Linked DNA regions of Homo sapiens: regions 2 and 3 are each linked to region 1. The links are contacts of gene promoters, found by promoter capture Hi-C in human tissues and cell types (Jung and others, 2019). All regions are on one chromosome and are shown on one strand. The core of a region is centred on a gene start or on the middle of the fragment in contact, and the rest is flanking DNA. Distances in the headings are between cores, read along the strand shown. Region 1 holds the start of GPR132 (G protein-coupled receptor 132). Region 2 has its middle 170 kb from the start of LINC00226. Region 3 has its middle 84 kb from the start of LINC00221.

Region 1 (3,677 bases), core at 105-2,604:
TGATCCACCTGCCTTGGCCTCCCAAAGTGCTGGGATTACAGGCGTAAGCCACCGCACCTGGCTGGATTGCCTGTAATTTCTAAGCTGTTTCACGGTTGCTGGCCATTCCTAGCCATTTCCGTCTTTTACTCCCACCTGCTTTGGCACCAGGCAAACCTATGACCTCTTTTCTGCCGTCACGTTTGAGACAAACCCTAGGGAGGGAAATGTGGAGTCACCAGCTCCAACCTCCCTGCTCCACCACACCCATCCAAAGCCCATTGTCAACTTTCTTATTTTTCCCAATTTGATAGTGTTGCCCAGGCTAGAGTGCAATGGCGCGATCTCGGCTCACTGCAAGCTCCGCCTCTCAGGTTCAAGCGATTCTCCTGCCTCGGCCTCCCAAGTAGCTGGGATTACAGACGTGTGCCAACACGCCCGGCTAATTTTTGTATTTTTAGTAGAGACAGGGTATCACCATGTTGGTCAGGCTGGTCTCAAACTCCTGACCTCAAGTGATCCGCCCACCTCGGCCTCCCAAAGTGCTGGGATTACAGGCATGAACCACCGTGCCCAGCCCCTATCCTCATCTTCTTCCAGGAGCCTCTGCTCTCCCACCTCGGCCTGGCCAATCTCCTGAAATATCATTTTGTGCTCAGCCCAACTGGCCAGTCTTCAGTGGTCAGTCCCAGTCCCTTGCAGTGGTACAGACCCACGTCATGCACTTGACAGAAGGTATTGGGCCCCCCGCCCCGCTGTGCCTGGTGCGCCGAACGCCACTCCAAAGGCCGGTGACCTGCCCAGCTCCAGGATCTTGTCACGTGACTGGGCCAACTGCCACTCACCGCAGCACAGCCCCCACTGCCCTGCTTTTCCCTCTGTGTAACCCCACAAGCAGCACAGGCCCCACAGAGAGAAGCCCAGCCCTTCAGTGCCCCCCGACCAATCACGGAAGCAAGTGGCCAAGGAGAGATTCCAGGGACAAAGTCCAGCCCCCTGACTCACCCCCATCTGGACCAGTAGCCAGGGAAGCCTTTTCCAGAAGAAAGTCTCCAGGAAGGTGGCGGTGACAAAGATACAATGGAAACTGTTGTCCCTCTCCCCCAAATCCTCCGGCCCCATCACATCTGTGGTCACTGGGGGTCCTGGGTTCTCTCGGGAGGGACCCCAGATTAAGAACCCTCAACAAAGCCTCCATCTTTACCAACAAATCACCTTTGCCTTCAGATCCCCCTCTGCCCGCCTCCAGCTCCCAGCCCCCAGCCCCATCCCAGAGCCTGGCCCCCCAGGCCCACTCCCCAGCACGCAGAGCCCAGCGACTTACCCAGGGCCCCGCCTGCGTGGCTAGCCTCGCACCCCTCCCTGCAGTCCTAGCTGAGGTTTCAGGAAGTAGCAGGGGTCTAATTATGTTCTGTCTAGAACTCCCCTAACCACAAACAGGGCTGAGCTAGGGGTTAGCCAACCGGGCTGGGGTATCTTACTGGTGATGACAGCATGGCCTCGTCACCTTCCTGAGGGAGGGAGTGGCAGGAAACCCCAGTCTTACCTCTTTTAGCAATAGCAGCACTCAGAGCCAGGCTCCACTCACTCAGGAGCTCCCAGGCAGGTGCTGGGGCCTGGCGCGGCACAGCGGCTGTCCGTGTGTCCCCAGACAGGCAAGGCAGGACAGGGGTCCTGGAAAGGCTGCAGGGAGGGGTCCTGGAAAGACAAAATCCAGCTCCTCTGCAGCTCAGGCCTGGTGTTGCCCACTCTCGGGCCAGGCAAGCACGGAGCAGGGTGACTTCCCAGAGGCTGTGTCCTCCCAGGAGTCCCTGTCCGGGGTGCCAGGAGTAGAGAGGCTGAGTGCGCCCACTGCAGCCCCGGGACCAGGATGGCACCTGCATGTCCTGGAAGGCTCGGCACAGCCACTGCACACAAGCACCCTCCCCTCCCCGCCTCCCTCTTCCTACATGGGGCAGGGCCGTGTGGGAAGAACAGCCTACTGCACACTCCACATTCCTCCCCCAGCCCTACCTCAACCCCTCCTGCATCCAGAACCAAGCCTGGCCTGGCCCAGGAGCCCTGCGGGTGGGCTTCTCTGTGAGGGGCCCTGTGGGAACTGGAGGGTGGGCAGGCAGGGTTGCCTGGGACAGTCCCCCTCACTGTGGGGCTTCCGGCCATGATGGGCCCAGTTTCCTTGGACAAAGCCAGCTGGCTGTGGACAGCACCTACAACTCCACTCACCTCCAGGCTGCTTCTGAGTTTCAGGGCACAGACCCACCCTGGTGCCCACTCCCGAGCCTGCCAAGCTCCATCCAAGCCAGGCTCTTTCAGCAGTGGGGACAGGGCCGGGCTGAGGGAAGGAGCTGGGGACCACAAATGTCTCCAAGCGACACTGCCCAGCACCGCAGCAGGGACGGTCACTGAGCGAAGAAGCCGCCATCCTGGGTGGGTACACCCACGGCCAGGAGAGGCCGGTGGAGGCCGAGCCCCCAGTCTACACTTTCCCCCAGACACGTGGATCACAGCTGCCCCCTGCTGCAGGGCCGCATGGCTGGAGGCTGCCTCCGAACAGCGATTTCAGAGGGTTTTGTGTGGGTGGCAGTGGAGTCCCTGGAAAGCTGGGCTTTCCCATTGCCCTGGCGGGGAGGCGCAGGTCTCAGGGCAGGGCCTACCTTGGCTTTCCAGAAACACTTGCCCAGGGGACAGTGATCCTCTAGGGGATCTGGTGCAAACACACGCCTCCACAGGCCACTGCTCATGGGGTCACTGGCCTCCCGGGTCTTTGGGCCAGGGCAGCCCCACCCTCGGAGCAGCAATAGACGAAGCCCACATCAGGCCAGTGGGGGTGATGGCCAGGGACAGCTGTGGGTTCCTGTCGCTGGCCCCAGCAGCCTCCTAGGACCTGCCCCGTCCTGCGCCCCACTGGGTGGTCTGTCACGTTCACCAGGCCTCCTCTGCGCCCCCGGTGAGGGGTCCAGGAGTGACATGCGGACCCGGCTCAGGCCATTGTCACCCTCCATGCCTTCTGGCCTTTGCCAGGCAGTCCGGGAATAGCCGATTCAAGTGAGGTCAGTTGAATCCTCTCTTTGGGTCCTTCACTGGGGTCTGGGAAAGGAAAGTTGGGTCCCTTGGGTGGCAGGAGCTGTGGGTATGAACTGGGGGGTTGGCAGCCGTGTACCGGCTCCCCTGCCCCTGCCAGGTGGAGAAGCCAGGCTGGGGTGGAGGGCAGGCAGGAGCCTGGGAGTCCAAACACTGACAGCCTGGGGGTGTGGACTGGCCCTGCCTATTCCCACCGGGCCTTCGGGACCAGTGGAGGCTGCCCCGGGCTGTGCGGCACCTGGGGTGTTGTCTCTGAGAAGCCCGTCAGGGAGATGGCTCTCCCTGCTCTGACCCCAGCAAAGCGATTCATACCCAGAGAATCCCTCACCAACAGGAGAGCAGGTTTCAGACAGGAAGTCACCCGAACATCCCACGGCTGAGTCACGTGCCAGAACAGCTCCCTGCGGCCCAGACACAGCAGTGGTGAGGTCCAAGCTGCAGACATGGGGTACAACTTCACATCCCGATGTGTGCACCAGAAACCGCCCTGCTGTCCGGTGGGTTCACCAGCCGTTCTCCTGGCCTGTCTGGACCCTGCAGAAGCCAAAGCTGGTGATTGCTTGCTAATTTGTCCAGTCAGTCTGGGAAGGCCTGGGCCCAGGGGGAGACAAGGCCAG
Region 2 (3,702 bases), core at 1,028-3,527, 1.1 Mb after region 1:
TGGGGTGGCTCCTCGCCCGGGCCTGAGGGAACAGGGGATGAGCTGCCTTTCTTGAGGAGGGGAGGGGACATATTTCCATGTCTTTCTTTTTGTGGTCTTGGGTGCACCGCTCAGCATTGCTCATCCATCCTCTGTGTCTCCGTTTCAGGGAGGGCAGGATCAGAGGATTCCTGGGTCTGGATGCACAGGGTTAATCTGCCCATTACTCTTTCTTACTCTCTAGTGCGGACACTGTTCAGGTATCTTCATAGTAGAAAACATTATCAACAAATACATCCAGTAAGAACTTAAAAATACATTTCCAGGGAAAACGGACATCTCGCTGTAATCAGTACATTTAGAGCTGGAAACCACTGTTCCTGACCATGAGGCAAAGTTGAGTTACAATGAAAAAAAAATGCAGATCTACACCTTGTTAGGGAGGGGGTTGATAATTACCATTATCTTGAGATCACTTTTCGCAACATAGTTCAACATTGGATATATGGACATGACATGATTCATATAAACATGCACATTTGCTAGAACAGAAGGTTGAGAGGTCCCAGAAGTACTTATACCACATTAACAACACACATACCCATTATCACAATATTTTATTTTAACACTACTCTTTAAAATCAGAAACAAGCAATCTTTATATAAATGGCTAATTCTATGTATGAAAAAGGTGATAAAGAAACAAGCTTAGAATCTATCGTAATATCAGGAAACAGGGAAGTGTTCAAAAACAAAAGGATGAGCTTTGCTGTAAGGATGCAGGATCCAAACTAAATGAGGTCCCAGCACCTAATAAAGCTGTGGAGATTTGAACAAGAAAATGAATAATGTAGCATGGATCTTCTTCAGAGTATGAAATAGATGTCCATAAACCAATACGGATGTTAATAGATGATTAAATAAAGAAATGATGGGAAGAAGAACACATCTCCTCATGGAAGTATTCCAAATATCTCAGGTGGATAGTCCTCCAATCAATAGGTGAAGGCTAAGCACTCATGAGTTGATTGTGGCCTGAGATTAGCAACATGGAATAAATAATCACTATTAGTGTATTTTATAATGAGACTTCAGATATAATGCCAAATACATGATCTATGAATGAATAATTTTTTATGTTTTTTGTCTAAATCTGTGCACACACACACACACAGACACACAGACACACATATATTTTTTGAAATACCCACTGATAAGAGAGAAAAAGACAACCACAGACTGGGAGAAAATACTTCCAAGTCATCTATTTGTTAAATCAATTCTTTGGATTTGTTAAGTGACTTTTATAATCAATATGCAAGTAAACTTACAACTAATGAAAAGAAAACAATGCAGATAAAAATGAACCACATATCAGGAAAGGCATCCCAGCAAAAATTATATAAAAATTGTTTAATACGAATTTTTTATTTGGGACATGTGCATTTAAATAAAAATTAGATGCCATTACTCACCTATCAGCATGGCTAAAACTCACAATTCTCATGATGATAAATGGTAACATGAATGTGGAAAAACAAGAAATGTCATGCATTGATGGTGGGCATTCAAAACGTTACATGCACAAAATGAGATTTTTTGATATTTTTTAAATAGAGATAAAAGTAGAGTTAAAATGTGAATTTGTGCTTGTGTTCTGAAATATTTACAACATTGATTCAGAAATTGATGTTTACAAAGATTGATTCAGAGGAAGTTCTGTGTCAGATTTGTTAATATGATTCATTCTACAATCCCTGAAATTTGCTTACAGAATAAATGTTGTATGAAAAATCTCTCAAATAACTAAAATCCTGTCCATTCAAGCCCTTGTCCAGGGGCCTGTCATACCCAGTGCAAGTAGCAGTAGGTGAAGGTGTATCCAGAAGCCTTGCAGGAGACCTTCACTGAGGCCCCAGGCTTCTTCACCTCAGCCCCAGATTGCACCAGCTGCACCTGGGAGTGGGCACCTGTGGGGAGGACACAGGAGTGGATGAAAGCCCCCTTGACTGGACTCAATCCCCTCCTCATTACTTGGACCTGGGAACTGCTTACCTGTGGCTGCTGCCACCAAGAAGAGGATCTTGCAGGTCCAGCCCATGAGGAGATGTGCTCTCAGGGGATTCTCTCAGGTGATTCTCTCAGGGCACAGAACATATTTACCTCAGTGGATATCAGTATATTTGCATATTCATAAGACAAAGCCTTTCTTAGCTCAAAGCCCAATCCATGATAAGAAAGGGAAGATAAATGACACATCAGCCTAACAAGAGTGAGATGCAGACGGTCGAAGCCCTAATCCTGCTTGAGGAAATGCATGCCCTGCTCCATTTACAAACATTTGTGGACAGACGTCCTTTCACTGAAGAATAAGCCCATATAGAACAGGCTCCTCACTGTGAGCCTACATTTGATTAGCATAGAGACCACCTGGATCATTTTTGGAACCATCACTCTCCATCACACTGAGCAGGTGCCTTGGTCTTTTCCTGGACCCATCAGCCACCAGCACAGCTCATTGGTGACTCTGAGAAAGTGATGCTTATGTCCCACATGAGTGTCCAGGAGGGACCTCTGAGATCTACTGGGTGCTCCTGAGACACTGTCTCCAGCACCTGCCTCATGTCCTGATCCCCCAGGGTCTTCAATTCTATTGAACACTCTTGATTTACAGATTTGCCCTGTGATGCATAATTAGAGCTGATTTTCTCATCTCACAGACAATGGGAATCAGAAGATAAAGCAGGAGTTTGGAGTCCATTATGAACTCTCTACTCCCAAAGTAATTGTCAAGGAATTTGTGTTTAGAACAATTTTGGGTTATTTTGAACTCCATTTATTAGTATTTTGTCAAGTATTTACATACTTTCAGTTCATATCCACAGACCCTCACCTTTCCATATTGATTTCTGACTCACTTGGTCTGTGCACCTGCCACACTCTCAGATCCACCACTGCCCTGTCACTCACACAATGTAAGCAACATTACTTAACACTGAAATCTGAATTTCTTATTCATAGGAATGTAGTTTCTTCAACTAATCTGTACCCATAGAATTAGTAAAAACATGCCTATCCTTCATATTCTCACTATTAAGATATTATAGTTCTAGAAACCCACTTTAAAAAATAGTTCCCAGTGCCTTAAGTTATATGAATGGTTTTGATGTGATAGAATATTTAAAGCACATCAGCGACTTTTTGAACAGTTATTTTAGATTGTTTTTTCCTGACAAACGAAAACCCAGGCACTGAGAGGAAACCTCCTCCCCAGCTGTGCACCTGCTCCAGGGCTGGAACCTGCGCTTGGTGGCTCCCAAGTGCCCCCTTCCACAGAAGCTCTTGCCTTGCAATGAGGTTTCTGTCGGGGCTCACAAATATTTTCCTTCAGAGTCTCTAGCCCAGCATGAAGTGGCTGTGTCCTGGTTTAGAATTCTCCATCAGTGACACCACATGCTGCTGACACCATGTCTTTTAACAATTGATTAGCCTTACTAAACCTACAGAGGGAGACCCACAGACAAGATTCTGTGACACAGAAGGGACCCCCTTTTCTGAAGCTTCACATTTCCTGAGTCAGTGGACACACAATGAACACAAAAACTTGAAGGATTTGGGGAGTGCCTAGTTTCTTCGCTGGGCTCTTGCAGTTGAATGTTGCACCTGAGAATATCTGCAGGTACAGATAAATTCAGAATAAAGACACCTTTGTATATGCTATTC
Region 3 (3,484 bases), core at 246-2,745, 1.3 Mb after region 1:
AGGACTTTTCATCTCTGTGAGTGTGAATCTGCATTTTGTGCATGTGAGAATAGTTAGTTCCTCACATTAAAATGATCTTTTTTAAATACATAGAGATGACACAGAATTCTAAACTTAGAGCGGTTCCCTGGGGAAACTGTCAGAAGAAGTTGAAGTCCCACATCCTGGAAGGAATCCAGCCCCTAATCTCCATGTGCACCTCCTTCTGGGGTTGATTCTGATCAGTGGGTCCTGAGTGCCCCCTGCAGCTGATTTCCCCCCACCCCAGGGTTCCTGCAGGGAGGTTTCTGGCTGGGCTCATACTGATTTCCCCTCACCATGTCTCTCACACAGCCGAGTCCTCATCTCTCAGACTGTTCATTTGCAAGTACAGCATGTTCTTGCCATTGTCTCTAGAGATGGTGAATCTACCCTTCAGTGTCTGCATAGTATAGGCTACCACCACTAGCACTAATGTATGAGACCCATTCCAGCCCCTTTCTTGAAGCCCGGTGGGCCCAGTTCATGTCATTGCTTCTCAAGATGAATCCGCAGGCTGCACATGAGAGTCTCAGGACACCCCCAACCCCACCACAGCTGTACCAAGTCTCCCCCAGACTCTACCAGCTGCACCTCATACTGCACACCTGCAAACACAGAGACATCCTGGTCAGAAACTGCCACACATATCCACTGTTTCTCTAATATCCACTCACGAACAATATCTGTAGTTCTTCATGTATCACCTCTTAAAATAGTAAAAAGGAAAGCCCAGCTCAGCCCAAACAACATGGTGATTCCTCTGTGTTAAGTTCTGATCACCAAGTGAAAACACTTGGGAATCCTGGCACTTGAGCTCGTCTCCCAGAGCTGCACGGTCACGGCTGGGCTGGTTTTCATCATCAGCAGAGGGAGGGAACTATTTGCATATCTCCTACTATATAAAAGTCTCTTGGGCTGGATGTCTGAGGACAGGGCAGGGCACAGAGCATATTAAGTTTTCTGGTGGGTGGTGGGGCTTGAAGACAATGATAGTATTTGGAAAAAAATGTAATTTCTTATTAAAAGATTGTGCTATAGTAAACACTTAACATACATCATCTTAACACATGAAAATACATTGTTAGAGGCAGATGCCCATTGGTCCTCCATTTACAGATGAGAATGTAAACGCAGAAGCATGAGGGAGCTATGAGATGTGTCCAGGAGCTCACATGTGACAAGAATGGGCTCCAGGATCGAGGCCTGTGCTCCTCTCCACCGGATCCCACTGCTCCCTTAACCAACTTTAGCCCAGAGTTACACACACCTGGTGTGGTTTGAAGAAACCCTTCTTGTAATAAAAACATTAAAAAAATCTGCTGCATTTTAGAATTACCAAAAAATAAAGATAGAGCTAAGGGTTATTCATTGTACATTCAGAAATATCTGACTTTTTATGTGATTTATCCATCTCCCTTAAACCGTCCCTAAGAAATTTATACAGGTATTTATTTGTAATAGCTTGAATAATATAAAATTATAATTAACACACAAAATGTACAATTTAGAAATTATTGATGTAACCATAACCATTATTAAGATAGAAAACAGATCAATTACCCTCAACATTTTCTCTTGTTCTCTTGCAACTCCTCCGTCCTCCCTCTTTTCGCTCACCTTTTCTCCATTCAACTCCCAACCTTCATATCACTTTAGTTTCTATTCTGTAGAATGTATAAAAGTGTCATCATACGGGATGTAGTTTTTTTTTTTTGGCTTATTTTACTTATATGTACTTGTGAATTTAGTTCGTTTATGCGTCTATCAAACGTTCATTAATTGTAATGAACAACAGTATTCCAATGATTGATTTTTTTTTGTTTTTTTGAGACGAAGTCTCGCTCTGTCGCCCAGGCTGAGTGCAGTGGCGCAATCTCGGCGATTCTCCTGCCTCAGCCTCCTGAGTAGCTGGGATTACAGGCGCGCACAACCACGCCCGGCTAATTTTTGTATTTTTAGTAGAGACGGAGTTTCACTATGTTGGTCAGGCTGTTCTCAAACTCCTGACCTCATCATCCACCCGCCTCGGCCTCTCAAAGTGCTGGGATTACAGGCGTGAGCCACCGTGCCCGGCTGAATTTGTTAAATTCGGTGTTTAATCTGACATCCTTCTGGATTTGCTCACACTGGAACGTAAAAGAAAATAATTTCCAACACTTACGTGTAGCCAAAACAAAACCAAAAATTTCCCGTCTCTAAGCTACACCTACCACTGGATTTTTAACTGACAAAAGATGAGCCTGAGAGAAATCACAAAAGCAGCCAATTCAAGGAAAAGCCATTTATCGTTCTCAGCTGAACTTAAGACCACAGTTACCACGAAGGCAGCTTCTCCACCTCCGGAGCTCAAGCGATCCGCCCGCCTCAGCCTCCCAAAGTGCTGGGATTCCAGGCCTGAGCCCCGCGCCAGGCCAGCGAAGGCAACGTCTAAAAAAACTTCTCACCTCCTGTCACCATTTCAGTGACAAATTCCCGAGTTTTCAGAGGACATGCCGAATCCAGCACAAAACACTGACTCTGAGGAGCTCCCGACGCCGCTGGCGCCTCAGCTGGCAGCAGCTGCTCCAAGTTCGAACCCCCGGGCGGTGGCGGAAGGGCCTTCCCGCGGGCGTCGGGCAGCAGCTGCAGCCCTGGGATCGGCCGCGGCGGCTCCGCGTCCTTCCCGGAGGCGCCGGCGCGAGGTCCTCACACCCAGGCGGCTCAGTGGAGGCGCAGCAGCCCAAGGAGCGCCGCCCCCAGCGCCCGCGCCCATCCTGGAGAACTGCATCTGCGCAGGCCCAGAGCGTCCTCCTGGAGCAGGCGAGCCAGGATGGCGCCTCCTCGCTCCCAGCAGGCGCCCCCACGCGGCCCGTGCGGAGCCCAGCAACCAGAGCCGCGCGAGCCTGTGGGGAGCCTGTGGGGAGCCTGTGGAGGCCTGGGCTCCACCGCCTTCCCCACAGCCAGCAGCAGCTTCTGCCGCCCGCCTTCCCCTGGCCAGGTCTTCCTGCAGCTGGCGCCGGAGGCTGCGGAGGGAGGGCCCAAGGGTTCTTTTCAGAAGACTGGCTTTTTATGAATTTTAACACAATATGTACAAGCTGCATTCGTTTAATAATGCTACTTCCGTCATACGCTGGCAACTTAACACCTGAAAAGATTAGATGTTATAAATAGGACTTGTTCATCCTTTATACACAGGATATCCATAGATAAATAAAACAAACACACAGACAGAAGAGATGATCATTAATCTCTCCTCCCGGTGCGCACAGAGGCCTGGAAGTCTGCACTTTCTCCTCCTCTCTCCTCCCCTGAACCAGAGCACAAACGCAATGTGTGTTGATCAAGCAGGGATTTGGCCATCCTCCCCACCCCCCACCAACATCAAAATAAAATAAAACACTGCATATGAATTTTAACAAAAAGACATTTACAAAATTTATTATTTTACCACCTGTAATTTTAACATACATCAGGCACTTCAGAA

The links. Contacts are between HindIII fragments. The study calls those that stand out against the background at their distance.
Region 2: a fragment that was not itself captured here is called in contact with the fragment with the promoter of GPR132 in region 1 in 1 of the 25 tissues and cell types used here (lymphoblastoid cells).
Region 3: a fragment that was not itself captured here is called in contact with the fragment with the promoter of GPR132 in region 1 in 1 of the 25 tissues and cell types used here (lymphoblastoid cells).

What each region holds. Positions count from the first base shown.
Region 1 is chr14:105,064,076-105,067,752 of GRCh38, forward strand. GPR132 (G protein-coupled receptor 132) reads right to left here and starts at 1,355. Exons shown (of 4, transcript NM_013345.4): 1 at 1,304-1,355. RefSeq lists enhancers at 44-183, 1,861-2,378, 2,054-2,223, 2,434-2,503. The HindIII fragment of the contact is 15,172 bases long and covers 1-3,677 here.
Region 2 is chr14:106,120,630-106,124,331 of GRCh38, forward strand. It overlaps IGH and the pseudogene IGHV1-12. Among named protein-coding and RNA genes, the nearest start is that of LINC00226, 170 kb to the right of the region's middle. The HindIII fragment of the contact is 4,139 bases long and covers 209-3,702 here.
Region 3 is chr14:106,396,344-106,399,827 of GRCh38, forward strand. It overlaps IGH and the pseudogene IGHV3-37. Among named protein-coding and RNA genes, the nearest start is that of LINC00221, 84 kb to the right of the region's middle. The HindIII fragment of the contact is 9,547 bases long and covers 1-3,484 here.